Regions from separate parts of the Homo sapiens genome. Here regions 1, 2, 3 and 5 are each linked to region 4. The links are contacts of gene promoters, found by promoter capture Hi-C in blood cells and fetal thymus (Javierre and others, 2016). All regions are on one chromosome and are shown on one strand. Each heading gives the region's core, a stretch centred on a gene start or on the middle of the fragment in contact. The rest is flanking DNA. Distances are from core to core; before and after follow the strand shown. Region 1 overlaps ITGAM (integrin subunit alpha M). Region 2 has its middle 5.4 kb from the start of FUS. Region 3 has its middle 6.7 kb from the start of ITGAM. Region 4 holds the start of COX6A2 (cytochrome c oxidase subunit 6A2). Region 5 has its middle 19 kb from the start of PYDC1.

Region 1 (6,168 bases), core at 996-3,495, 130 kb after region 4:
GAATGTGCTGCCAGCTAAAGGAACCTATATAATAAGCCTGGCAGAATGGTTTCTGCCTGTAATCCCAGCTCCTCGGGGGGCTGAAGTGGGAGGATCCCTTGAGCCAAGGAGTTTAAGGCTGCAGTGAGCTTTGTCACCACTGCACTCCAGCTTGGGCAACAGAGCAAGATCCCAATCTCTAAGTGTATATATATATTTTTTAATAATTTAAAAGATAAAAAATAAGCCTATAGTAGAGTCAATGGGCAGTGAGTGAGGATTTACTCCAGGTGGTATTCCTGGGAGATTATTAAGGCAGCAAAGAAGAATTTGGGTTGGAAAATACATAGAAAATTCTAGAAGAGAAGACAGAATACCACCCTTTCAATATATTGGGAATCTTTAGGGAGGTAAAAAGTCAAAGTTGGCACTCTGACTAATAAGGCTAATAACTGGCTTAGATTAAAAATAACTATTTGTTATTTGAATATTTGTTGTGATATTAAGAAATATCTTCAAGGTCAATATGTAGAATTCATCCATAAAATTCACCTATTTAATCATACATTCATTCATTCATTTATTCATTCATTCAACAAACAAGTGTTTCTTATTGCTAAGCACACAGCTGGGTAATAGAGATACAGTGCCTTCCAGGGCCCTCAGTGCAGCCAGGTGGAGGAGAGGAGAGTAATCAATGGATTAACAGGGAGATGTGTATAGCAATTTCAAACTGGGACAAGTTCTAGAAAGGGAATGTGCAGGGGACATCATGCCACGGCTCTGCAACGTGATTTCTGCCTCATACACCATTGAGGGAAGACTCATTGATAACTGAATACTTTATCCTAAAGTCAACAGAATTTGATTGTTTTTTAGGTCAGATTTATTGGGGAAGAGTTTACATACAATAAAATTCAGCCTTTTAGTACATAGTTTTATGAGTTTTGACAAACATATAAAGTCATATAACCGGCCAGATGCAGTGGCTCATGCCTGTAATCCCAGCATTTTGGGAGGCCAGGGCGTGTGGATCACCTGAGGTCAGGAGTTCGAGACCAACCTGGAAATCATGGTGAAACCCCATCTCTACTAAAAATACAAAAAAAAAAAAATTAGCAGGGCATGGTGGCGGGCGCCTATAGTCCCAGCTACTCAAGAGGCTGAGGCAGGAGAATGGCGTGAACCTGGGAGGTGGAGCTTGCAGTGAGCCGAGATAACGCCACTGCACTCCAGCCTGGGCAACACAGAGAGACTCTGTTAAAAAAAAAAAAAAAAAAGATAAAAAGATAATAACCATGATCAAGTGTGATTTATCCCTGGGATGCGAGATGCAAGGATGATTCCACATATGCAAATCAATTAATGTGGCATATCACATTAACAGAATGAAGGACTAAAACCACATGATCATCTCAATATACGCAAAAAAAAGCATTTGACAAAATTCAACATTCTTTTATAATAAAAACTCTCAATAAATTCGCTACAGAAGGAATGTACCTCAATATGATAAAGGCCATATACGACAAGCCCACAACAAACATCATACTCAATGGTGAAAAATTGAAAGCTTTACCACTAAAATGAGGAAAAAGGCAAGAATGCTCACTCTCACTACTTCTATGTAACATAGTACTGGAAGTCCTGGTCACAGCAATTAGGCAAGAAAAATAAATGAAAGAGACCCAAATCAGATATAAAAAAGGAAATTTGTCTCTGTTTACACTTAAAATGATATATATATAAAAACATATATATATAAATATATTTTTAAAAAACCCTAAAAACTCCACCAAAAAAGAACTACTAGAACTAATGAATAAATTCAGTAAAGTTACAGGTTACAAAATCAATGTGAAAAATCAATAGTGCTTCTATACACTAACAATGAACTATCTGAAAAAGAAATCAAGAAACAATCTCATTTACAATAGCATCAAAAAAAATACCTAAGCTTAAATTTAACCAGAGAGGTGAAAAACATGTACACTAAAACTATAAAACATTGATTAAGGAAGTTAAACAAGACAAAAATAAATGGAAAGATATCCTATGTTCATGGACTGGAGTATTAATGCAATCTTCTGATTCAGTACAATCCTTATCAAAATCCCAATGGCATTTTTTTACAAAAATAGAAAAAAAACTAAAATTTATGTAGAACCACAGAAGACCCTAAATAGCCAAAGCAATCCTCAAGAAAAAAAATACTGGAGGCATCATAATTCCTGATCTCAAAACATACTGTGTCAAGAAAGCTCTAGTAAGCATAACAGCAAGGTGGTGGCATAAAAACAGACACATCAACCAATGGAACAGAACAGGGAGGCTAGAAATAAAACTATGCATTTATGGTCAATTGATCTTCAATAAAGGTGCCAAGAATATGCAAAGGAGAAAGGACATTCTCTTCAACAAATGGTGTGGGGAGAACTGGATATTCATATTCAAAAGGATTAAATTAGACCTTTATCCCAAACCATATACAAAATCAACTCAAAATGGATTAAAGACTTAAACACAAGACCTGAAACTGTAAAACTACTAGAAGAAAACAAAGGGAAAAGCTTCTTGACAATCAAGCTTCTGAGAAATGATTTTTTGGATATGACCCCAAAAGCACAGGCAACAAAAGCAAACCAGACAAATGGGGTGGCATCAAACTAAAAAGTGTCAGCTTAACAAAAAAAGAAAATTTCAGGCCAATATTCTTGATGAACACTAATGCAAAAATCCTCAACACACTACCTGCAAACCAAATCCAGCAGCACATCAAAAATCTAATCCACCATGATCAGGTAGGCTTCATTCCCGGGGTGCAAAGTTGGTTCAACATATGCAAATCAATAAATATGATTCATCACATAAACAGAACTAAAGACAAAAACCACATGATTATCTCAATAGATGAAGAGAAGGCTTTAATAAAAGTCAACACCCCTTTATGTTAAAAATTCTCAATAAACTAGGTATTGAAGGAACATACCTCAAAATAATAAGAGCCATCTACAACAAACCCACAGCCAACATCATACTTGATGGGCAAAAGCATTCCCCTTGAAAGCCAGCACAAAACAAGGATGCCTTTGCTCACTAGTCCTATTCAACATATTATTGGAAGTTCTAGCCAGAGCAATCAGGCAAAAGAAAGAAAAAAGGGCATACAAATAGGAAGAAAGGAAGTAAAAAAGTCAAACTATCCCTGTTTGCAGACAACATGATTCTATATTTAGAAAACCCCATAGTCTTGGCCTAGGAGCTCCTTCAGCTGATAAATAACTTCAACAAAGTTTCAGGATACGAAATCAATGTACAAAAATCACTAGCACTCCTATACACCAACAAGAGCTGGGAGCCAAATCAGGAAGGCAATCCTATTCACGATTGCCACAAAAAGAATAAAATAACTAGGAATACAGCTAACCAGAGAGTTGAAAGATCTGTACAGTGAGAATTGTAAAACACTGTTCAAAGAAATCAGAGATGACACCAAAAAAATGGTAAAACATCTCATGCTCATGGATAGGAAGAATCAATATCATTAAAATGGACACACTTCCCAAAGCAATTTATAGATTCAGTGCTATTACTATTAAGCTACCAATGACATTCTTCACAGAACTAGGAAAAACTATTTTAAAATTCATATGGAATCAAAAAAGAACCTGAATAACCAAGTCAATCCTAAGCAAAAAGAACACAGAAGGAGGCATCACATTACCTGACTTCAAACTATACTACAGGGCTACAGTAACCAAAACAGCATGATACTGGTACAAAAACAGGCACATAGACCAATGGAACAGAATAGAGAGCCCAGAAATAAGGCCATACACCTATGACCATCTGATCTAAGACAAAAATAAGCAATGGGGAAAAGAATTCCTATTCAACAAATGGTGCTAGGATAACTGGCTAGCCATATGCAGAAGATTGAAACTGGACCCCTTCCTTACACCATATACAAAAATCAACTCAAGATAGACTAAAGACTTAAATGTAAAACCCAAAACTATAAGAACCCTGGAAGACAACCTAGGCAATACCATTCTAGACACAGGAATAAGCAAAGATTTCCTGACAAAGACACAAAAAGCAATCTCAACAAAAGCAAAAATTGACAAATGGCATCTAATTAAATGCAAGAGCAAAAGAAACTATCAACAGAGTGAACAGACAACCTAAAGAATGAGAGAAAATATTCACAAACTATGCATCCAACAAAGGTGTAATATCCAACATCTACAGGGTACTTAAACAAATTTACAAGAGAAAAACAACGCCATTAAAAGGTGGGAAAAGGAAATGAACAGACACTTTTCGAAAGAAGACATGCATGCAGCCAACAAGCATACAAAAAAAGCTCAAAATCATTATCATTAGAGAAATGTAAATCAAAACCACAATGAGATACCATCTCACACCAGTTAGAATGGCTATTAGTAAAAGTTAAAAAATAGATGCTGGTGAGGTTGTGAAGAAAAGGGAACACTTATACTGTTGGTGGGAGTGGTAAATTAGTTTAACCACTTGGGGAAAGCAGTATGGCAACTCCTCAAAGAGCTAAAAGCAGAACTACCATTCAACCCAGCAACCCCATTACTGGGGATATACCCAGAGTAATATATATCATCCTACCATAAAGACACATGCACATGAATATTTATTGCAGTACTAGTCACAATAGCAAAACATGGAATCAACCTAAATGCCCACCAATAACAAATAGGATTTTTTAAAATGTGGTACATATACACCGTGGAATACTATGCAGCCATAAAAATAGCAAGATCATGTCTTTTGTGGGAACATGGATGGAGCTGAAGGCCGTTATCCTTAGCAAACTAACACAAGAACAGAAAAACAAATACTGCATGTTCTCACTTATTAGTGGGAGCTAAACTATAAAGAACTTATGAACACAAAGAAGGAAACAACAGACACTGGGGTCTACTTGAGGGTGGAGGTTGGGAGGAGGCAGGAGCAGAAAAAATAACCATTGGATACTAGGCTTAATACCTGGGTGACAAAATACTCTGTACAACAAACTCCCATGACATGAGTTTACTTATATAACAAACTTTCATGTGTACCCTCAAACCTAAAGTAAAAGTTGAAAAATTATAAAATATCAATCTAATTTTTTTAAATTAAATAAATAAATAAAAAGTGACAGCTACTTAATGGTATGTATCAAGATTCTTTTCAAAATTCTTTTGGATACTCTACTTTTTTATTTTTTATATAAATTTTAGAATTGGCTAAATTCTGCAAAATATACTTCTAGGATTTTTACCTTTTTATGAATATGTAATAATTGCACATATTTATAGGGAACATGTGATATTTTTATACAAGCATACAATGTGTGATGATCAAATCAGGGTAACTGGGATATCCGTTGCCTCAAGGATTTATCATTTCTTTTGCTGGGAACATTCCAATTCCATTCCTGTAGTTATTTTGAAATACACAATAAATTATTGTTAACTATAGTCACCCTACTGTGCTACCAAACACTAGGTCTTATTTTTCCTAACTGTATTTTTGTACCCATTAACCATCCCCTCTTTACCCCATCCTCCTTACTACCCTTCCCAGTCTCTAGTAACCCATCATGCTACTCTCTACCTCCATGAGATCCATTTTTTTTTAGCTCCTACACATGAATGAGAACATGCAATATTTGTTTTTCTGTGCCCGGGTTGTTTTACTTAACATAATGTCCTCCAGTTCCAATCCTGTTATTGCAAATCACAAGATTCATTCATCTTATGGCTGAATAATATTCCTTTGTGTACCAGAAAAATGCAAATGAAAACCACAATGAGATATCATCTCATTCCAGTTAAAAGGGCTTTTATCGAAAAGACAAACAATGATGGATGCTGGCAAAGATGCAGAGAAAGAGGAACCCTCATGCACTGTTAGTAGGAATGTAAATTAGTAAAGCCACTATAGAGAACAATATGGAGGCTCCTCAAGAAAACTAAAAATGGAACTACCACATGATCCAGCAATCCCAGTGCTGGGTATATTGCCAAAGGAAAGGAAATCAGTATACTGAAGAGATAACTGCACTCCCGTGTTTATCGCAGCACTATTCACAATAGTCGAGATATAGAATCAACTTAAGTGTCCATCAACAGATGAATGGATAAAGAAAATGTGGTACATGTGCACAAT
Region 2 (5,766 bases), core at 639-3,138, 250 kb after region 4:
ATACAAACATTAGCCAGGCATAGTGGCGCGCACCTGTAGTCCCAGCTACTCAGGAGGCTGAGGCAGGAGAATTGCTTGAACCCCGGAGGCAGAGGTTGCAGTGAGCCGAGATCGCGCCACTGCACTGCAGCCTGGATGATAGAGTAGAGCAAGACTCTGTCTCTAAAAAAAAAGAAAGACGGAAAGTTATGCTGAAGCTACACAGGAAGTGGCAAAGCTGGGTTCCCAAGCCAGGTAGCCTGCTCTTAACCCCTGCGCTTCAGCAAACATTGCCTGAGCACTGCATAGTATGTTCCAATCATGGGGCCGACTGGATGGATATGGATAAAAAAAAGCTCAGTTCCTAAACCACAGGACCAGCCAGTGGGTGAATGTGGGTGAGACACACAGACCACAAAGTGTACTTGAGTGTAGTAAGTGCCATCACATGGAATCAAAGACTGGAAACCCTGCCAGCAGAGTAAGTCATCCATCAGGTGGACAACCACAGAACACTAAAGAGAGATGGTAACCCTGAAGCCAAGGCTTACTGGATAAGTAGAAGTTTGCCAAGCAGCAAGGGAGGAAAGGCTATAATAGGCAGAACCGCGAAGACAAAGGCACAAGTGGGGAAGACACTGAGGCAGAGTTCAGGCTCCAGCTGTGACTCTGGGCTGGGCATGGTGGCAGATGAGACTCGGCCTCAAAAAAAAAAAAATATGTGACTCTGAAAGACTAAATCAAATGGCCATTTCTTTCTTTCTTTTTTTTTTTTTTTTGAGATGGAGTCTCACTCTGTCACCCAGGCTGGAGTGCAGTGACGTGATCTCAGCTCACTGCAACCTCTGCCTCCCGGGTTCAAGCAATTCTTGTGCTGCAGCCTCCCGAGTAGCTGAGATTACAGGCATGCATCACCATGTCCAGCTAATTTTCCTATTTTTAGTAGAGACGGGGTTTCACCATATTGCCCAGGCTGTTCTCGAACTCCTGATCTCAAGTGATCCACCTGCCTCGAATGTTTTAATTTTTTTAACTAGTTGCCAACACTAAAAATAGTGGGCCATTCCAGGCCCACTTCCATAGGGCAAGGGTCAGCTGGAGTGAGACACTGTCACCTTTAGCTGCCATATGTGCTTTAAGTTCACCATAAATGTCTTATTTACTTCCTATCTCTGACAGGAAAGTCAATGTTAAATTTTTCTTTTTTGAGACAGGGTCTTGCTATGTTGCCCAGGCTGGTCTTGAACTCCTAGGCTCAAGGGAATCCTCCCAAAGTGCTGTGATTAAAGGTGTGACCACCACACCCAGTTTCAATTAACATGTATATCAGATATTGGGCCAGATGCGTTCGCTCACACCTGTAATCCCAGCACTTTGGGAGGCTGAGGTGGGCAGATCATGAGGTCAGGAGTTCGAGACCAGCCTGACCGACCTGGTGAAACCCCATCTCTACTAGAGATACAGAAATTGGCCGGGCATGGTGGCGCGCATCTGTAGTCCCAGCTACTCGGGAGGTTGAGGCAGGAGAATTGCTTGAGCCAGGGAGGCAGAGGTTGCGGTGAGCAGAGATTGTGCCATTGCACTCCAGCCTGGGCGACAGAGCAAGACTCCATCTCAATAAAAAAATAAACACGTATATCAGATATTGATTTTTTTTTGAGACAGAGTCTCACTCTGTCACCCAGGCTGGAGAGCAGTGCTGCAATCTCAGCTGACTGCAACCTCTACTTCCCAGGTTCCAGCAATTCTCCTGCCTCAGCCTCCTGAGTACCTGGGATTACAGATGTGCACCACCACACCCAACTAATTTTTTTAGTAGAGATGAGGTTTCCCTATGTTGGCCAGGCTGGTCTCGAACTCCTGACCTCAAATGATCTGCCTGCCTTGCTTTCCCAAGTGCTGGGATTAGAGGCATGAGCCACTGCACCCAGCTCAGATATCCAGATATTTATTTAGTTAGTTAGTTTTAATTTATTTATTTAATTTTTTTGTTTGTTTTTTTGAGACAGAGTCTCCCTCTGTCACCCAGGCTGGAGTGCAGTGGCACAATCTCAGCTCACTGCAACCTCCGCCTCCGGAGTTTGCAGTTCTCTGCCTCAGCCTCCCGAGTATCTGGGATTACAAGCTCCCACCATTACGCCTGGCTAATTTTTTGTATTTTTAGTAGAAACAGGGTTTCACCATCTTGGCCAGGCTGGTCTTGAATTCCTGACCTCCTGATCCACGCGCCTCGGCCTCCCAAAGTGCTGGGATTACAGGTCTGTGCCATCGTGCCAGGAAGTTACATATATATATATATTTATTTATATTTATATATATTTGTTTGAGATGGAGTCTCGCACTGTTGCCTGGGCTGGAGTGCAATGGCGCGATCTCGGCTCACTGCAATATCTGCCTCCCAGGTTCAAGCGATTCTCCTGCCTCAGCCTCCAAGTAGCTGGGATTACAGGCACCCGCCACCACGCCTGGCTAATTTTTTGTATTTTTTTTTAGTAGAGACGGGGTTTCACTATGTTGGCCAGGCTGGTCTCAAACACCTGACCTCGTGATCCACCCCTCCTCGGCCTCCCAAAGTGCTGTTACAAGCATGAGCCACTGCGCCCAGCCCCAGAATTTATTTTTTAAAGACAAGGTCTCATTTTGTTGGCCAGTTTTGTCTTGAACCCCTGGCCTCAAGCAATCTTCCTGCCTCGGCCTCCCAAAGTGCTAGAGTTACAGTTACAGGCATGAGCCACTGCGCCTGGCCTAGATCAAATATTTAATGCAATTTTTCTTTTTCTTTTCTTTTTTTTTTGAGCAGGGAGAGGTTGGTTTTCACATTTCTAGTGGGAGCCATGGGAGGGTCCTCCTTTGGCAGTGGAGGTGCTCACAATTTCTTCAGCCACTCCAAACTGGGGCCTTGGGGGTCCTGGGGGTGGCTGGGCACATCGGGCATGTTCCCATCATTGCAGACAGGCACTGGGTAGTTGTAGGGCCTTGCCTCGTTGATCATGATGGAGTACTTGGTGTGGGGACTAAGTGGGGGTAGAATTACAGTGAGGCTCCGGATGACAGAGGACAAGACCAGCACTGGCTCCTTGGCCCAGGAAATCTTGAGGAAGGTGCTGAGTCTCGTGGCCTTCTTGGTCTCGGTGGTGATGACAGCGGCCTTTTTTTTTTTTTTTGAGATTGAGTCTTGCTCTGTCACCCAGGCTGGAGTGCAGTGGCGCGATCTCGGCTCACTGCAACCTCCGCCTCCCAGGTTCAAGCAATTCTCCTGCCTCAGGCTCCCGAGTAGCTGGGATTATAGGCACGTGCCCCTACGCCCAACTAATTTTTGTACGTTTAGTAGAGATGGGGTTTCACCATGTTGGCCAGGCTGATCTCGAACTCCTGACCTCATGATCTGCCTGCCTTGGCCTCCCAAGCGCTGGGATTACAGGCGTGAGCCACCATGCCTGGCCTCCTTTTTTTTTTCTTTTGAGTTAGGATCTCAATCTGTCACCCAGGCTGGAGTGCAGTGGTGCAATCAAAGCTCACTGCAGCCTCAAATTCCTGGGTTCAAGCAATCCTCCAAATTTGGCCTTACCAGCATCTGGGACTACAGGCCTGCACCACCATGCCCAGCCTCTATTTGGGTTTTTGTTTTTTTTTTTTTTTTGAGACGTAGTCTCGCTCTATCACCCAGGCTGGAGTGCAGTGGCACGATCTCGGCTCACTGCAAGCTACGCCTCCCGGGTTCAAGCGATTCTCCTGCCTCAGCCTCCAGAGTAGCTGGGACTACAGGCGCCCGCCACCACGCTTAGCTAATTTTTTTGTATTTTTATTTTTAGTAGAGATAGGGTTTCACCATGTTTGTCAGGATGGTCCCAATGTCCTGACCTCGTGATCCACCCGCCTCAGCCTCCCAAATTGCTGGGATTACAGGCGTGAGCCACTGTGCCCGGCCTCTATTTGGGTTTCTAAAAAAGAAAGAGGGCCAGGCTCAGTGGTTCATTCCTGTAATGCCAGCACTTTGGGAGGCCGAGGCAGGAGGATCATTTAATAACATAGTGAGACCCTGTCTCTACAAAAAAATTAAAAATGATCTGGGTTTGGTGGTGTGTGACTGTGGTCCCAGCTACTTGGGAGGCTGAGTCTGGGGCAGGGGGGTGGGGTACTATCCAAGAGGTCAAGGCTGCAGTGAGCTATGACTGTGCCACTGTACTCCAGCCTGAACAGCAGAGTGAGACCCTGTCACAAAAAAAAAAAAGAAAAAAGAAAAAGAGAAGGAGAACAGTTAGGGATATATATATATATGTGTTTACTTATGCATAAAATATCTCTGGAAGAAGAAAAACAAGTCATAGCCTATTTCTGAGGAAGGAATCTGGGGAACTTGGGGTCAAGGATTGAAGGAAATTCACTTTTCCTAGATCCTTTTATATTTTAATTTTTCACTATGTGCATATAATGACCAATTTAAAAGCAAACTGACTCCTACAATGCACCACAGCATGGTAGCTGAGGAGGGTATTATACAGGGTAAGACCTGCCACAGGGGAAGAGTGATTACTTTTGCAGTGAGTAGGGTGGGTCAGCCTTCACTGAGGAGTTGACTTTTTTTTTTTTTGAGATGGAGCCTCGCTCTGTCGCCCAGGCTGGACTGCAGTAGTGCAATCTCGGCTCACTGCAAGCTCCGCCTCCCAGGTTCACGCCATTCTCCTGCCTCAGCCTCCCAAGTAGCTGGGACTACAGGCGCCCACCACCATGCCCGGCTAATTTTTTTTTTGTATTTTAAGTAGAGACGGGGTTTCACTGTGTTAGCCAGGATGGTCTCGATCTCCTGACCTTGTGATCCACCCGCCTCAGCCTCCCAAAGTGCTGGGACTCAGGCGTAACCCACCGCACCCAGCTATTTTTTTTTTTTTTTGAGATAGGGTCTCGCCCTGTCGCCCAGGCTGGAGTACAGTGGTACAATCTCTGCTCACTGCAGCCTCAATCTCTTGGGTTCAAAAGATCATCCCGTCTCAGCCTCCCCAGCAGCATACACCACCACGCCCCAGCATTTTTGTTTTTTGTAGAGACTGGGTCTCATCACATTGCCTGTGGCCGGCAAGCCACCCAGGCGCCAAGGCAAGAGACCGAGGACATGAGCTGTTCCAGTATAAAAAAATATAAGACAAGAATAGTTATACCAGATATAGATCTTAGATATGATTATATATGAATATCATTAATCATTAGTTTGTAGCAATTACTCATTATTCCAATATTATAATAATCCTCGCTGTATAATCATAACCTAGGAGAAACCAGGCCATACAGAGATAGGAGCTGAGGGGACACAGTGAGAAGTGACCAGAAGACAAGAGTGCGAGCCTTCTGTTATGCCCAGACAGGGCCACCAGAAGGGCTCCTTGGTCTAGCGGTGACCCCAGCGTCTGGGAAGACGCCCATTGCCAAGTGGACCGTGGTCTAGCAGTAGCGAAAAGTGTCAAGGAACAACACCCGCTGCTTAGCAGACCGGGAAAAAGAGTCTCCTTTTCTCTGGGGGAGTTTAGAGAAGACTCTGCGCCTCCACCTCCTGTGGAGGGCCTGACATCAGTCAGGCTCGCCCGCAGTTATCCGGAGGCCTAACCATCTACCTGTGATGCTGTGCTTCAGTGGTCATGCTCCTAGTCTGCCTTCATGTTCCATCCTGTACACCTGGCTCTGCCTTCTAGATAGCAGTAGTAAATTAGTGAAAGTACTAAAAGTCTCTGATATGCAGAAATAATGGTGTAAGCTGTCTTTCTCTTTGTCTTCTCTCTCTCTCTGCCTCGGCTG
Region 3 (5,363 bases), core at 81-2,580, 170 kb after region 4:
ATGGGGGCTGCTCGAACTCAGACGTGGAGGCCCCTCCTTGCCCTGAACAGTGGCCAAGGGTCCACTCTCTGTAAAAACATAGGCAAGATCTCAGACTGGCTGTCCAACCTGCAGAGGCTTTCTCAATGAGCCACCACCAAGTGTGCACCTGACCTGGTGACCGTGGGTGGGGACATATCTATAAGCTGTTGGCTGTTCCCTCCTACCTGTCCCCCATCCCCACTCTTGATAAAATCTTAGCTTGATTTCCCCTATAAGTGGACTCTGAGACAAGGCTTCAAGTGTAAGTAATTTATCTGGAAGGTGATTCCGGAAACACTGGTGGGAAAGTGAGGAAAAGAAGGAGCTAATGCCAGGCACAATGGCTCACTGCCTGTAATACCAGCACTTTGGGAGTCCAGAGTGGGAGGATCGCTTGAGCCCAGGAGTTCAAGACCAACCTGGGCAACATAGGAAGATTCTGTCTCTTAAAAAAAATTTTTTTTTAATTATCTAGTGTGGTGGTATGCACATGTAGTCCCAGCTACTCAGGAAGCTGAGGCAGGAGGATCACTTGCACCCAAGGGGTCGAGGTTGCAGTGAGCTATGATCATGCCACCATACACTGTACTCTAGCCTGGGCAACATAATAAGACCCCGTCTCTTAAATTTTTTTAATTAAATAAATAATTAATTAATTAAACATTAATATGTATCAAACAGGTGTGGGAAATCAAACTATCTCCCTGAAAACGCACTTCGCAAAATGTCCCTTGGACATTTTGAGCCCAAGTGTTGGAGGCTGCAGTGAGCCATGATCACACTACTGCACTCCAGCCTGGGCAACAGAGTGAGACCTTGTCTCAAAAAAAAAAAGAAGGAAGAAAGAAAGAGCTTATAAAAGATATGTAATTAAACAAATTACTGGCCGGGCATGATGGCTCACGTTTGTAATCCCAGCACTTTGGGAGGCTGATGTGGGTGGATCACCTGAGATCAGGAGTTCGAGACCAGCCTGGCCAACATGGCAAAACCCGTCTCTGCTAAAAATACAAAAATTAGCCAGACATGGTGGCATGCGCCTGTAGTCCCAGCTACTCGGGTGGCTGAGACAGGAGAATGCTAGGAACCCGGGAGGTGGAGGTTGCAGTGAGCCGAGATCATGCCACTGCACTCCAGCCTGGGCAACAGAGCAAGACTTCATCCTCAAAAAAAAAAAAAAAAAAAAAAAAAAAAAAGATTATTGACCTGGTGCAGTGGCTCACGCCTGTAATCCTAGCACTTTGGGAGGCTGAAGTGGGTGGATCACTTGAGGCCAGGAGTTTGAGACCAGCCTGGCCAACATGGTGAAATCCCATCTCTACAAAAAATACAAAAATTAGCTGGGCATCATGGTGCATGCCTGTAATCCCAGCTGCTCGGGAGGCTGAGGCATGAGAATTGCTTGTACCCGGGAGGCAGAGGTTTCAGTGAACTGAGATTGTGCCACCACACTCCAGCCTGGGCAACAGAGCAACACTCCATCTCAAAAAAAAAAAAAAAAAAAAAAAAAAAAAGAATAGAGAGATATGTCATCTTCATGGATGACAAGACTACAAGACTACAGATGTCAGTACAGATGTCGGTTCTCCATTTAATTACTCAAATTCATTATAATCTCACCCAGCAGAATTTTTCTAGAATTTGACGTGCTGATTCAAAAATTGACTGGACTAGAAAACACACAGCAATAGCCTATAAAGCAATGGGACATACCTTACAATGTCATGTTATTCCATAACAAGTACCCTATCAAAGCAATATTCTAAAGCCACAGTAGGTAAAAGTACAGTGTTGGCTCTGGAATAAGTATATAAGACCCTCGGAAAGAATACAAAATACGTATGTAGAAATCTGGTGTTCCCATCAGAAACAATACATTTCTCCTACTGAAAAAGCAAACAAGACTTTCTTTGATTCCACTCCCCTCATCAACCACTGCCCATTTTTTACTTCCCTTTTGCAAAACTTCTCCAAAGTAGTTGTCTGTGTTGGCTGCACCCTGTTCTACTGCTCACATCCTCCCTTAACCCCATTCCAACCAAGCCTGTGCTCCAACCCGGCACCTACTCCACCTAAACTATTTTTATCAAGGTCACCAAGGCTGCCTGAGTGACTCCAGTGATGAGTTCTGTCTTCATCTTGAGTGACTCAGCAGCAGCTTCTGACACTCGGCCCTCGCTTCCTGGAACTGATTTCTACATCTGTCCTCTGACCCCACACTCTCCTGCTTCCCGCCTACCGCCCATGACCCTCCTTCTCAGTTTCTCTTGCTGATTCTCCTCTTCTCCCAACCTCTTCAGAAGGATCTCAGAGCTCAGTCCTTTGACTGCCTTTTTTCTTTTTTCCAACTCCTGGGTTCAAATGATCCTCCCACCTCAGCCTCCTAAATAGCTGGTACTACAGGCATGCGCCCCCATGTCCAGGTAATTTTTCAATCTTTTTGTAGAGACGGGGTCTCACTAAGTTGCCTAGGCTGGTCTCAAACTCCTAGCCTCAAGCCATCCTCCCACCTCAGCCTCCCAAAGTGCTGGCATTACATGCGTGAGCCACCGTGCCCAGCCGAAGTCAATTTTCAGTACAGCAGTCAGAGGGATTGTTTCAAAACACAAGACATATCATGCCACTCCTCTGCTCAAAACCTTGCAAAGGCTCCCACGTTACTGATAGTAAAAGCCAGTCCTTTCTACAACCTACAAGGACCTGCATGACCTGTCATCCCAACCCCAGCCCTTACCTCTCTGAGCTTACCTCATTTTCTGGGACAGCAGCCACCCTGGCCTCCTTGCCATTCCTCAAACCTGCCAGGCACACCACCACCTGAAGGCCATGGCACTGGCTGTTCCCTCTGATGGAACCAATCTTCCCCCAGGGATCGGCAGGCTCACTGGCCCACCTCCTTCAAACAAGTGGGTTTTGCATCACATGACTCTCTATACTCAACTTCGCAAACCTTCTTTGCCACATTCCTCAACATTTTCCAGTTTTGCTCTCAGGGGAATGAAGGTATCAGGTCTTCATCGTCCCTTTTCCTGCACAGCACCCAGGGTCACGGCTTCTCTCTTCCCAACAAAATCTCCCAGTCCCACCTCTCCAAATTTCCTTCCTTGTCTACACAGACAAATTATCTCCGTCTGAGCTCCTCCAATTTGCTTCGCTCACCACACTCGAAGAAACTTGCTACAGGATCCGCCCTCCTGAGAAAGTTGTGGGAAGAACAAGAATAAAATACTGTTTTTCCATTGCACTGGATTGTCAAGAAAAGTTCCTGTGATCCTGTCAGGCCTCTGAGCCCAAGCTAAGCCATCATATCCCCTGTGACCTGCATGTATACATCCAGATGGCTTGAAGCAACTGAAGATCCACAAAAGAAGTGAAAATAGCCTTAACTGATGACATTCCACCATTGTGATTTGTTTCTGTCCCACCCTAACTGATCAATGTACTTTGTAATCTCCCCCACCCTTAAGAAGGTACTTTGTAATCTCCCCGACCCTTAAGAAGGTTCTTTGTAATTCTCCCCACCCTTGAGAATGTACTTTGTGAGATCCACCCCTGCCCGCAAAACATGGCTTTTCACCCCCTATCCCAAAACCTGTAGGAACTAATGATAATCCACCACCCTTTGCTGACTCTCTTTTCGGACTCAGCCCGCCTGCACCCAGGTGAAATAAACAGCCTTGTTGCTCACACGAAGCCCGTTTGGTGGTCTCTTCACATGGACACGTGAGACAACCCCAGCTACCCAGGAGGCTGAGGTGGGAGAATCACTTGAGCCCAGGAGATTGAGGCTGCAGTGAGCTGATTGCACCACCGCACTCCAGCTTGGGCAACACAGCGAGACCCTGTCTTAAAAAAAAAAAAAAGTAAGAAAAAAAAGTTCCACCTGAGTGTCATCCTCAGCCATCTGGTTAAGCCTTTGGGTCTGGAATCAGACTAAGGGCACTAAAATCCTAGGTCTACGCCGGGTGTGGTGGCTCACACCTGTAATCCCAGCACTTTGGGAGGCTGAGGCAGGTGGATCACCTGAAGTCAGAAGTTTGAAACCAGCCTGGACAATATAGCGAAACCCTGTCTCTACCAAAAATACAAAAATTAGCCGGGAATGGTGGCACATGCCTGTAATCCCAGCTACTCAGGAGGCTGAGGCAAGAAAATCACTTGAACCCAGGAGGCGGAGATTGCAATGAGCCAAGATCACACCACTGCCCTCCAGCCTGGGCAACAGAGCAAGATCTCATCTCAGAAAAAAAAAAAAAAAGAATAAAAATATCCTAGGTCTATAAGTATGCCCTTGAACAACTTACTCTCTGGACCTCACTGTCCTCATCTGGAAAATGGGGGCAATAATTGTACTAACATCTTGGGGTGATTGTGATAGTTAAATGAGATAATAATAGATGTCAAAGTGCATGTAGTCAACATTCGCTGTAATCATTCTACCAACTGTGTTGGGTTGATGGATGACCTGGCCAGCGCACCCTCGATGACACACAGAGGTAGGTGGCTGAAAGCTGCCTGTCGCTCAGTGGGAAGCATTCTGGATGCTTCCCTTGCCACCTCAGTTGTCCATGCAGCAGGCCAAATGTCTGGCAGGCCAAGGAAATTGTTCTACCACAGGCTTTGTGAGTCCCAGGTGTTTCGACCAAGGTCACACAAAGAGCATGGTTGGCCACAGGTGACTTGCAGGGCAGCGACAGCCATTTCACCATCTCTAAGTTCTTGCCTCCCAACCTTGAAAGGAGGAGTTGCTCAGGGCCTAACCTGAGCAGGGCAGGAAACAAAACTACTAATTCCTGGAATAGGCTACTTGGTACTCAGTAAATCTCATGTTCTACTTGTTCTGTTGTTTTTCCCCAAAAGGCCCTAACTGATGTGTGACTTAACAGAGTTTTTGTAAGGGTTAAATTAAATAATGCATGTGAAAAGCTTAGCACAGTGCCTGGCATGTAAGATGCGCCCCCACCGGCAAAGATGATTATTTGTATTGGTGGAGACTAAGGTTCAACTGTTGTAATAAGACCCAAAATCACAGAGGCTTAGCCCAGACAGTCCTGTGATGGCCCCAGCATCAGCATTTGGGGGTTACGGAGGCTCCATGGTGTTGGAGATCCAGGCTCCCTCCAGCAGGTTGCTCTGCCATCCTGAGGGTTTTGTCTTCATCCGCCTGGTCAAAGACGGCCCAGCGCCAAGTCCACCCTCGGGCTGACAGGAAGGATAAAAAGAAGTGGTGCCTGGCAGGGAGTGGTGGCTCACGCCTGTAATCCCAGCACTTTGGGAGGCCGAGGCAGGCGGATCACCTGAGGTCAGGAGTTCAAGACCAGCCTAACCAACATGGTGAAACC
Region 4 (5,645 bases), core at 1,666-4,165:
CATAGCCACTGGCCCCTCCCAAGTGCAGAGGGAGCTCAGAGCCCCATTTATTTAGAGTCTATGTCCCTGTTGCCACTGGACCCCACCCCAATGCTGTCTGAGCTCCATCTCTCTGTACCTGTTCGTTCTAGCTAACCCATGTCCTGTATCACAGTTGTTTTTCCAGGACTATTCTAATTTCAAATACGCTGTCCCTAGGGCCCCCATAAACATTTATACTTAGTAGATCACATGTAATCGATCTTTGCTTTAGAAAATGTGGTCATGGTATGCAGCATCCCAGGAAGAGGGCACAAGAGAAACTGACCCTGAGTCATGCCTCCACCTCCTTCACCACCAACAGCTGAGATACTCTGAACAGAGGCTGAGATGCTGCCCTCCGGGGTTTATTTAGCACCTGGTGAGTTTGTTCTTCCCTCTGCCTAAAGTGGAGGAAAAATTAAACCTCTAGAAACTGAAAGTGTTGGCAGCAGCCAGGTTAAGAACTGTGTGAGTGAGAACTTACAGAAACAATGGTGAGTGCACAGCCTGGAAGAGACAGCTCTGCACACCCTCTAGAGAGGCAGGTAAGATGGTGACAAGCCCAGAAAAGCACAGACCACCTGAGCGGAGGTCTCTGGGTACCTGGGCAAGTGCACCTCGTGATGGTGACAGCAGCCCAGGACAGAAGTGGCCCTCCTCAGGGCGTTCTTGACATCCCAGCAAGAAAACCTCTCCACAGGAGCTCCCAAGCTGAGAACAAAGGGATGGGAATTCCCAGGGAATTGTTTGGCAGCAACCAGAAAAACTCTGAGGGGCCTTTTAGGGGAGAAAAGAAACCTAGAACCTTTTCTTCCTTTTTTCCTTCTTTTTTTTTTTCTTGAGAGAGTCTTACTCTGTCACCCAGGCTGAAGTGCAGTGGCACAATCTTGGCTCACTACAACCTCCACCTCCTGGGATCAAGCGATTCTCCTGCCTCAGCCTCCCGAGTAGCTGGGATTACAGGCACGGGCCACCACACCCAGCTAATTTTTGCATTTTTAGTAGAGATGGGGTTTCACCATGTTGGCCAGGCAGGACTCAAACTCTTGACCTCAAGTGATCCGCCCTCCTCATTCTCCCAAAAGTGCTGGGATTACAAGCGTGGGCCACTATGCCAGGCCTCTAGAACTTTGTCAAGTAAAAATACCTGTCTTCATGTCTGTTTTCTCCAGGAGCCATTATCTTATATACGTAGGGAGGGGGCTATGTGTAGAGGGAGATGCCAGGTATCTTTAACTGGAATAGGGCCCCATCTTCTCTGCAACAATGCCAAAGTCCAGCTGGGAAAAAAACTGTAGGAAGAATTCTATTATAGCTCAGTGAGAGCTCAGGAATAATTTTTGTAACACTGTATAACATTTGACTGCTCAAGGAGGTTATTTTTTTTAAAAATAGCAGCAGCTTAAAGTTGGATGGAACATACTGTTCAGTTTATTACCAATGAGAAACAGGTATAGAGCCCCTTCTTGAAAATATATCTTCCTCGTTTTTTTTATATATTAAATTCAGATTATATGTCTATATAATTCATTCTTCTTTTGTATATTAAGTTCATATTAGTACATCAGCCCTTGATCAAAGCTAGAAGCTTCCTATTGGATTGTAATTCTGAAAAGGCATTGTTGTAGGGTTAACCAAAGTAACAAGGTTCAAGCATTCATTACATACATATTTTTAGAACACCTCCTTCATGCCAAGGTCCCTGCCCGTTGCTGAGGACAGAACAGGCAGATGTCATCCCTGCCTGGTCTTGTGGCTTTCTTGTGACCTGCTTTGATAGAGGGTTCACACCAGCCCTGTCTAGGCTTGCTTTCTCCAAGTAGTCATATTTTTCAGATTGAAATAATGCACTTTGCAGTAGACACCTGTCAGGCTTGTGGCTGCCTGGAACCTTTTGAATACTCATCCTAGACCTGGAGATTTTCCCTACAATTCCTGCCTCCCTAAGGCAGAATCCAGAGCTCAGTTTCCCATCCCCTCCTGCAGCTGGGGGACCTAGGGGTTGCCAGTTGGTGCAATCACATAATTCTTTCAGAAAAGAGCGACCCAGGATACAGGTTTCATGAAGAATCTGTTTTCAAGAGGGGATGAGGGTGGAAAATTCTGGTTTTCCAGGGCAGCCTTAATGAAGCTTTTGGCATCCAGGGTCCAGCAGTGTGAGCTGTGGGGGTGTCACTGCAGCTGGCCAACGGAATGACTTGTTTATGACTGTGCAGACTGTAGGCATCTCTGGCTATATCAGACATAGTAAGCTACCTAAGATTCTCAATTACTTATCTTCTAAAACTAGTAAGAGTGAGTTCTGTTCTTTGCAAAGAACTGTGACTAATACATATACTGAACTACTGTTACCTGCCAAAATCCAGGTTGACACATTCCTACCTTACATAAACTTCATAAAAATGATGTAAGGGCCGTGTAGTGGCTCATGCCTGTAATCCCAGCACTGTGGGAGGCTGAGGCGGGAGGATCACGTGAGCTCAAGAGTTCCACACCAGCCTGGACAATATAGTGAGATCCCCGTCTCCAGTATTTAAAAAATCTTTTAAGGTACGAATTATTATACATTTTACAGCTGAAAACACTGAGACTCAAAAAGACACTTAATTCATTCTACAAATATTTATTAAAGCCCAACTGTGTGCCAGCCACCAGGCATAGAATAGGGAACAAAATAGTTTCCCTGCAACTATATAAAAAGAATGGCATATTGTACTTAAATGCCTCCTTGCCAAAATAAGAGGCACAGGACAACAGCTGTCTGGAGATGACCTCAAGCCAGTCAGGCCCCATTTTAAATATAGAAACCCCTAAGAATAGCCGCCAGTGCTCCAGACTCAACAGGTGATTGGCCCAGAGAGGGGAGGTGACCCCAGGCCCCAGGAAAGGGAGCGAGGACAGCGCTGGTTCCCGGCTCCCCGCACCATCATGGCTTTGCCTCTGAGGCCCCTGACCCGGGGCTTGGCCAGCGCTGCCAAAGGAGGCCACGGAGGAGCAGGAGGTGAGTGGGGAACGGGCGGATCCGGGGGCTCCCCTACCCTGCCCACCTGTTCACAGGCCCGCCGCCCCAGGACCGCCGCGCTCACCCCGCTCCGTCCGCAGCTCGTACCTGGCGTCTGCTGACCTTCGTGCTGGCGCTGCCCAGCGTGGCCCTCTGCACCTTCAACTCCTATCTCCACTCGGGCCACCGCCCGCGCCCCGAGTTCCGTCCCTACCAACACCTCCGCATCCGCACCAAGGTACGCGGGACGGGCGCGCGGGCGGCACGGGGGTGCTGCGGGGGCGGGGGGGGGTGCTGCGGGGGCGGGGGGGGGTGCTGCGGGGGGGGGGTCGCGCGGGGCGCGGACTCCGGACTCACGGCGCTCACGCGCGCTCCCTCCCCCGCTCTCTCCACAGCCCTACCCCTGGGGGGACGGCAACCACACTCTGTTCCACAATAGCCACGTGAACCCTCTGCCCACGGGCTACGAACACCCCTGAGGCCCCGGACGCCCCCGGACACAATAAAGGTGTGAAGCTTCGAGTCTGCGGCTCTGTGGGGAGGGCGGGGCCACGGGGAGCGCGCCCAGAGGCGCCCGCTCCGCGCATGCGCCCAGCTTGGTAAGCGCTCCTGCTCCGCGCATGCGCCTAGCGCGGTGGGCGCTCCACGTGCTTTTCCCACGCCGCTGATACGGAGGTGCTCGAGGGAGCCTCCTCCACTCACAGGTAGGCGATCCCAGCTCCCTGTCTCTCACCTGGTAATAATGAGGCCTCCCTCTCACACACACCTATTAATAATTAGGGCTCTAGGCTGTAATGGGCTTCCGCGTACACCGAATCCTCACAGTAACGCTGGGAGCAGGGTATAAATTTAGTTCACCTTCTCCCGAGGAAGACCTGAGATTCTTGGGAATTAAATGACTTGTCCAAGTTCCGGCAGCTCGGCAGAGCCCCCATGGGAGCCCAGGGCTGCAGATCCTGAAGTCCCACTTCTTGCCTGACACCTGAGCTGCTGGTGTCTGTGAATCCCAGCTCTCTGGATTTCAGACGGAGGCTCCACAGTCCTGTGTGTGAGGCCTTGGGACCTAATGCTGGATTTGGAATCTTTTGATAATTCTCTATAATCTTTCTTTCTTTTTTTTTTTTTTTTTTTGAGACGGAGTCTCGCTCTGTCGCCCAGGCCGGACTGCGGACTGCAGTGGTGCAATCTCGGCTCACTGCAAGCTCCGCTTCCCGGGTTCACGCCATTCTCCTGCCTCAGCCTCCTGAGTAGCTGGGACTACAGGCGCCCGCCACCGCGCCCGGCTAATTTTTTGTATTTTTAGTAGAGACGGGGTTTCACCTTGTTAGCCAGGATGGTCTCGATCTCCTGACCTCATGATCCACCCGCCTCGGCCTCCCAAAGTGCTGGGATTACAGGCGTGAGCCACCGCGCCCGGCCTATAATCTTTCTTAATGAGTCTTCTATATGGGAAATCACATGCTCCTAGCCTGGCTCTCCTGGCTTCTGAGTACCTCATTCAAGGGGGACAGGAGTTCAAATGAGCTCTGGACATTTCTTCACCTCCTAGGACAGCCTGCCCACTTACCATTACAGAGGAACCTGAAGTGTGTGAAGAAACCCATGACCAATGCATGCCTGCGTGCACGTGCATGCACATGCACACACACACACACACACACACACACACACACTCTTTGACCCTCTCCCCTGATACACACCTCTCAGCCCCATCAAGAAAAGATGACCTCAGGCTCCCATCACCATAGAAAGTGAAAAAACTTTTTCAATGCCCACAAATAGGTTCCCCCGACTATTCCCAGAGAGGCACTCAGGTCCCTGGGTTATAGCTCTTCCACGCAAGGAAAGTGTGCTATAAACATCCTCATTTCATGTGACAATTCTTAAGCATATGAAAATTTATGCTGGCACCATGCCTGCTTCTGTAAAAAGTGGGTCATTGCTGAAAAAGATGGACAGATATGTAAAAACATTACAATCTCTATCTCTCCGAGAAGGTGCTTAGCACCTGGTAGGTTGCTTAGGCCAGTGCAGATCTATGCAGAAGTTGTTTCCATGTAAGTTGATTTATGGTTGCAAGCAAGTCCAGCCCACAGTGGTAGAGATAAACAGGAAAGTGGATTATTAGGACAAAGGCACATTTGGGGCCACACAGCTGAAATCGTCCCCACTGAATGTGGCAGTGTCTTCAGGCTTGTCCTCCAGCATTTCCTTGTAGTGGCGTTTGAAGAAGCCAAGCTATCAGGGGAAATAAATTAGAAAAGCTGGGTAAGTCCGGGCCCGGTGGCTCACACCTGTAATCTCAGCACTGTGGGAAGCTGAGGAGGGTGGATCACCTGAGGTCAGGAGCTGGAGACCAGCCTGGCCAACATGGTGAAACCCCGTCTCTACTAAAAATACAAAAATTAGCTGGGTGTGGTGGTGCGCCTGTAATCCCAGCTACTCAGGAGGCTGAGGCAAGAGAATCGCTTGAACCCGGGAGGCAGAGGTTGCCGTGAGCCAAGATCATGCCACTGCACTCCAGCCTGGGCAAGACAGCAAGACTCCATGTAAAAAAAAAAAAGAAGAAGAAGAAAAAGAAAAGAGAAAGAAAAGAAAGAAAAGCTGGGTAAGAGGGCAGGGA
Region 5 (6,197 bases), core at 2,220-4,719, 190 kb after region 4:
TTACATTAAAAAAAAAAATACTGGGTCTCCTTCTAATTGCCCAGGCTGACACGTAGTGGCCCAATCATAGCTCACTGCAGCCTCCAACTACTGGACTCAAGCAATCCTCCTGCCTCAGCCTCCTGAGTAGCTGGGACCCCAGGCGAGCATCACCATATCCAGCCTTTTTTTTTTTTTCTGGAGAGATGGGGTCTCACTATGACTGGTCACAAACCCCTGGACTCAAATGCTTCTCCCACCTCGACCTCCCAAAGTGCTGGTATTATAGGCGTGAGCCACCGCGCCTCACCAGGTCTCTTTAAATTGGATGTGATATTAACTTTGGAACCGTGCTGGGCTTTTTTTTCATATCTGAAAATGAGACTCCCAAAGTGCAAAGCTATCCTCCCACCTCAGCCTCCCAAGTAGCTGAGACTACAGGCATGAACCACCATGCCTGGCTAATTCTTTTTTGAGATAGAGTCTTGCTCTGTCACCCAGGCTGGAGTGCAGTGACACAATCTCTGCTCACTGCAGCCTCTGTCTCCTGGTTCAAGTGATTCTCCTGCCTCAGCCTCCCGAGTAGCTGGGATTACAGGTGCCCACCACTGCACCCAGCTAATTGTATTTTTAGTAGAGACGGGGTTTCACCATGTTGACCAGGCTGGTCTCGAAATCCTCACCTTGGGTGATCCGCCTGCCTCGGCCTCCCAAAGTGCTGGGATTACAGGCATGACTCATCATGCCTGGCCAAAAAAATTTTTTTTAATTAAATTTTAAAAATAGGCCGGGCGCGGTGGCTCACGCCTGTAATCCCAGCACTTTGGGAGTCCGAGGCAGGTTGATCACGAGGTCAGGAGATCGAGACCATCCTGAAACCCCATCTCTACTAAAAATACAAAAAATTAGCCGGGCGAGGTGGTGGGCGCCTGTAGTCCCAGCTACGCGGGAGGCTGAGGCAGGAGAATCACTTGAACCTGGAAGGCAGAGGTTGCAGTGAGCTGACATCACACCACTGCACTCCAGCCTGGGTGACAGAGCAAGACTCTGTCTCAAAACATAAAACAAAACTACTCACTAAACTTGACAATATTACTTCTGATGAGGAGGAAAAAGAAATAATCAGCACTGGGGGTGTGGTCAAAGGAAACCTTCCCCTTATCTGTAAGATATAATTAAGTACAGACATGCGTTGTTTTATTGTAGTTCACTTTATTGCTTTTCATGGATACCGCATTTTCTGCAAACTGAAGGTCTGTGGCAACCCTGCGTCAAGCAAATCTATTGGTGCCATTTTTTCAACAGCACGTGCTCACTGCACCTCTCTTTGTCAGATTTTGGTAATTCTCACAATATTTCAAGCTTTTCATCATTCTTCTATCTGTGATGGTGATCTGTGATCAGTGATCTTTGAAGTTACTATTGTAATTGTTTTGGGGTACCACAAACCTCAACCATAAAAGATGGTGAACATAATGGATAAATGTGTGCATTCTGACTGCTCCACCAGTCAGTGGTTCCCCTCTCTCTCCCAGTCCTTGTGCCTCTTTATTCTCTTAGACACAACAATATTGAAATTAGTACAATGAGTAACCCTAGTGTCCTCTAAGTGTTCAAGTGAAAGGAAGGGTCATGTTAAATCAAAGGAAGCGTCATGTTAAATCAAATTATTAAGCTTAGCGAGGAAGGCGTTTCAAAAGCTGAGACAGAGGCTGGGCGCAGTGGCTCACGACTGTAATCGTAGCACTTTGGCAGGCCGAATCGGGTGGATCACCTGAGATCAGAAGTTTAAGACCAGCCTGGCCAACATGGTGAAACCCTCTCTTTACTAAAAATACAAAAATTAGCAGGGTGTGGTGGTGGGCGCCTGTAATCCCAGCTACTCAGGAGGCTGAAGCAGGAGTATCACTCGAACCCGGGAGGCGGAGGTTGCAGTGAGCCAAGATCATACCACTGCACTCCAGCCTGGGTGACAGACCAAGACTCTGTCTCAAAAAAAAAAGGCTGAGAGATAGGCTGAAGGCTAGGCCTTTTGCACCAGTTAGCCAAATAGTGAATGCAAAGGAAAAGTTATTGAAGGAAGTTTAAAGTGCTACTCCAAGGCCTGGCACAGTGGCTCAGCTAATAATTTCAATACTTTGGGAGGCCAAGGTGGGAGTATCACTTGAGCCCAGGAGTTTGAGACCAGCCTAAACAACATAGCGAGACCCTGTCTCTAAAAAATATTTTAAAAATTTAAAAATTAGCCAGCATGGTAGTTCACACCTGCAGTCCCAGTACTCAGGAGGCTGAGGTGGGAGGATCATTTGAGCCCAGGAGGTCCAGGCTGCAATGAGCCGTGATTGCACCACTACACTCCAGCCTGGACAACAGAAAGAAATCTTGTCTCAAAAAAAAAAGTGCTACTCCAGTGAACGTGAATAATAAGAAAGTGAAACAGCCTAATTGCTGATACGAAGGAAGTTTGAGTGATCTGGATAGAAGATCAAACCAGCACAACATCCCCTTAAGCCGAAGCCAAATCCAGAGCAAGGTCCAAATGCTCTTCAGTCCTATGAAGGCTGAGAGAGGTGAGGAAGCTGCGGAAGAAAATTTGGAAGTCAGCAGAGGTGGAAGTCAGCAGGGTTCATGAGGTTTAAGGAAAGAAGCAATCTCCACAACATAAAAGTACAAGGTGAAGCAGCAAGTACAGATGGAGAAGGCGCAGCAAGTTCTCCAGAAGATCTCTGATGAAGGTGGCTACACTCAACAACAGGTTTTCAATGTAGATGAGATGGTCTTTGATGGAAGAAGATGGCATCTAGGACTTTCAGAGAAGTCAATGCCTGGCTTCAAAGCTTCAAAGGACAGGCTGACTCTCTTATTAGAGGCTAATGCAGCTGGTAGGGCTTCAAGGTGTAGCCAGTGGTCATTTACCATTTGGAAAATCCCAGGGCCCTGAAGAATGATGCTAAATCCACCCTTCTTGTACTCTAGAAATGGAACAAAGCTGGGGTGACAGCACATCTGTTTACAGCATGGTTGACTAAGTGGTTTTTCTTGTTTTATTTTGGTTTTTTTTTGTTTTTTTGAGACGGAGTCTCGCTCTATTCCATGCTGGAGTACAGTGGCGCGATCTTGGCTCACTGCAACCTCCGCCTCCCAGATACAAGTGATCCTCCTGCCTCAGCCCCCTAGTAGCTGGGATTAGAGGCATGCGCCACCATGCCTGGCTAGTTTTTTTATTTTTGGTAGAGACGGGGTTTCACCATGTTGGCCAGTCTGGTTTCAATCTCCTGCCCTCAGGTGATCCACCCGCCTTGGCCTCCAAAAATGCTGGGATTACAGGCGTGAGCCACCGTGCCCGGCCAAAGACTGAGTGTTTTAAGCCCACTCTGGAGACCTGCTGCTCAGAAAAATAGATTTATTTCCAAAGTTTGCTGCTCATTAACAATCCATCTGGTCACCCAAGAGCTCTGATGGAGATGTCCAAGGAGATTAGTGTTGTTTCCATGCCTGCAAACACAACACGCATTCTGCAGTCCATGGACCAAGCAGTAATTTCGACTTTCAAGTCTTATTACTTCAGAAATACATTTCATGGCCGGGCGTGGTGGCTCAAGCCTGTAATCCCAGCACTTTGGGAGGCCAAGGCAGGTGGATCACCTGAGATAAGGCGTTCGAGACCAGCCTGGCCAACATGGTGAAACCCCATCTCTATTAAAAATACAAAAAATTAGCCAAGAGTGGTGGTGGGCGCCTGTAATCCCAGCTACTTGGGAGGCTGAAGCAGAATTGCTTGAACCTGGGAGGCCGAGGTTGCAGTGAGCTGGGATCACGCCACTGCACTCCAGTCTGGGTGACAGAGCAAGACTCTGTCTCAAAAAAAAAAAAGAAAGAAAGAAAAAAAGAAAGAAATGCATTTCATAAGGCTATAGCTGCCATAGATAGTGATTCCTCTGATGGATCTAGGCAAAGTCAATTAAAAACCTTTTCTGGATAACTTGCAAGTTATTCAGAAAATCTAGCTAAGATCATTGATGAAGGTGGCTACACCTTACAACAGATTTCCAATGTAGACAAAACAGCCTTCTATTGGAAGAAGATGCCATCAAGGACTTTCATAGCTAGAGAGGAGAAGTCAATGCCTGGCTTCAAAGCTTTAAAGGACAGGCTGACTCTCTTGTTAGGGACTAATGCTGCTGGTGACTTTAAGTTGTAGCTAATGCTCATTTACCATTCCAAAAATCCTAGACCCCTTAATAATTATGTTAAATGTACTATGCCTGTCTCTATAAATGAAACAACAAAGCCTGGATGACAACATATCTGTTTATAGCACAGTTGACTGAATATTTTAAGCCCACTGTTGAGAACTACTGCTCAAAAGGAAATTTCTTTCTTTTTTTCTTTCTTTCTTTCTCCATTGCCCAGGCAGAGTGCAGTGGCATGATCATAGCTCATTGAAGCCTCAACCTCCTAGGCTCAAGCAATCCTCCTGCTTCAGCCTCCCAAGTAACTGGAACTACAGGTTTGTGCCACCATGCCTGACTAATTTTTTTTATTTTTTGTAGAGACAGGGTCTTGCTATATTACCCAGGCTGGTCTCAAACTCCTGGGCTCACGTGATCCTCCCTCCTCAGCCTCCTGAAGTGCTGAGATTACAGACACAAGCCACCACATCTTCTCAAAAAGACTCCTTTCAAAATATTACTGCTAATTGACAATGCACCTGGTTACCCAAGAGCTCTGATGGAGATGTACCAAGAGATAAATGTTGTTTTCATGCCTGCTGATATGGTTTGGCTCTGTGTTCCCACCCAAATCTCACGTCAGGTTGTGATCTTCAGTGTTGGAGGAGGGGCCTGGTGGGAGGTGATCGGATCATGGGGGCAGTTTCTAATGGTTTAGCATCGTCCCCCTAGTGCTGCTTGTTTTAAAGCATGTAGCACCTCTCTCACCTCCCGCCAGCCATGTGAAGATGTGCCTTCTTGCCCTTCACCTTCCACCATGATTATAAGTTTCCTGAGGCCTTCCCAGAAGCAGAAGCCTGTACAGCCCACAGAACCATGAGCTGATTAAATCTCTTTCCTTTGTAAATTACCCAGTCTCAAGTATGTCTTCACAGCAGTGTGAGAATGGACTAATACAGCTGCTAACACAACATCTCTTCTGCAGTGCATGGATCAAAGAGTCATTTTGCCTTTCAAGTCTTTTTTTTTTTTTTTTTTGAGATGGACTTTTGTTCTTGTAGCCCAGGCTGGCATGCAATGGTAGAATCTCGGCTCACCGAACCGCCTCCTGGGTTCAAGCAATTCTTTTCCCTCAGCCTCCTGAGTAGCTGGGATTAGAGGCACCAGCCACCATGCCCAGCTAATTTTTGTATCTTTAGTAGAGACGGGGTTTCACCATGTTGGCCAGGCTGGTCTTGAACTCCTGAGCTCAGGTGATCCACCTGCCTTGGCCTCCCAATGTGCTGGGATTACAGGCATGACTCAACCGTGCCCAGCCTCATTATTGTCTTCTTTTAAGAAATTCTTTTTTTTTTGAGATAGAGTCTCACTTTGTCACCCAGGCTGGAGTGTAATGGCATGATCTCAGCTCACTGCAACCTCCGCCTCCTGGATTCAAGTGATTCTCCTGCCTCAGCCTCCCGAGTAGCTGGGATTACAGATGCCCACCACAACGCCCAGCTAGCTTTTGTATTTTTAGTAGACATGGGGTTTTGCCATGTTGGCCAGGCTGGTCTTGAACTCCTGACCTCAGGTGATCCACATACCTCGGCCTCCCAGAGTGCTGGGATTACAGGCGTGAACCACAGCACCTGGCCTAAGAAATTCTTTTAAGAAATTGCCACCGCCACCCCCACCTTCAGCAGTCACCATCCTTATCAGTCAGTAGCCATCGACATTGAGGCAAGACCCTCCACCAGCAAAAAGACTATGACTCACTGAAGGCTCAGATGATCCTTAGCATTTTTAGCAATAAAGTATTTTTAGGCCAGGCGGAGTGGCTCACACCTGTAATCCCAACACTTTGGGAGGCTGAGGCAGGTGAATGACTTGCGCCCAGGCATTTGAGACCAGACTGGGCAACACGGTGAAATCCCATCTCTACTAAACTTAAAAAAATTAGCCAGTCATGGTGGCGTGTGCCTGTAATTCCAGCTACTTGGGAGGATGAGGTGGGAGGATCACCTGAAACTGGGAGGTCGAGGCTGCAGAAATCACACCACTGTA

The links. The method cuts DNA at HindIII sites, captures the fragments that hold promoters and counts their contacts. A CHiCAGO score of 5 or more calls a contact.
Region 1: a contact is called between a fragment that was not itself captured here and the fragment with the promoter of COX6A2 in region 4, in 8 of 17 cell types (M0 macrophages, megakaryocytes, M2 macrophages and 5 more). The highest score is 8.3, in M0 macrophages.
Region 2: a contact is called between a fragment that was not itself captured here and the fragment with the promoter of COX6A2 in region 4, in 9 of 17 cell types (M1 macrophages, M0 macrophages, total CD8 T cells and 6 more). The highest score is 14.1, in M1 macrophages.
Region 3: a contact is called between a fragment that was not itself captured here and the fragment with the promoter of COX6A2 in region 4, in 5 of 17 cell types (M0 macrophages, M1 macrophages, endothelial precursors and 2 more). The highest score is 7.2, in M0 macrophages.
Region 5: a fragment that was not itself captured here is called in contact with the fragment with the promoter of COX6A2 in region 4 in 2 of 17 cell types (monocytes and M1 macrophages); the score reaches 5.6 in monocytes.

Annotation. Positions count from the first base shown.
Region 1 is chr16:31,291,198-31,297,365 of GRCh38, reverse strand. All of the region lies in intron 12 of ITGAM (integrin subunit alpha M), which reads right to left. Among named protein-coding and RNA genes, the nearest start is that of ITGAM, 34 kb to the right of the region's middle. The HindIII fragment of the contact is 613 bases long and covers 1,939-2,551 here.
Region 2 is chr16:31,171,904-31,177,669 of GRCh38, reverse strand. It overlaps the pseudogene NDUFA3P6. Among named protein-coding and RNA genes, the nearest start is that of FUS, 5.4 kb to the left of the region's middle. The HindIII fragment of the contact is 8,665 bases long and covers 1-5,766 here.
Region 3 is chr16:31,250,624-31,255,986 of GRCh38, reverse strand. No RefSeq gene overlaps it. Among named protein-coding and RNA genes, the nearest start is that of ITGAM, 6.7 kb to the left of the region's middle. The HindIII fragment of the contact is 7,238 bases long and covers 1-4,949 here.
Region 4 is chr16:31,425,630-31,431,274 of GRCh38, reverse strand. COX6A2 (cytochrome c oxidase subunit 6A2) reads left to right here and starts at 2,915. Exons shown (of 3, transcript NM_005205.4): 1 at 2,915-3,022; 2 at 3,124-3,260; 3 at 3,418-3,544. The coding sequence starts at 2,950. The coding sequence ends at 3,501. It overlaps ITGAD (integrin subunit alpha D), which reads right to left. Exons shown (of 30, transcript NM_005353.3): 30 at 4,770-5,260. The coding sequence ends at 5,147. The HindIII fragment of the contact is 1,386 bases long and covers 2,155-3,540 here.
Region 5 is chr16:31,233,248-31,239,444 of GRCh38, reverse strand. No RefSeq gene overlaps it. Among named protein-coding and RNA genes, the nearest start is that of PYDC1, 19 kb to the right of the region's middle. The HindIII fragment of the contact is 1,302 bases long and covers 2,819-4,120 here.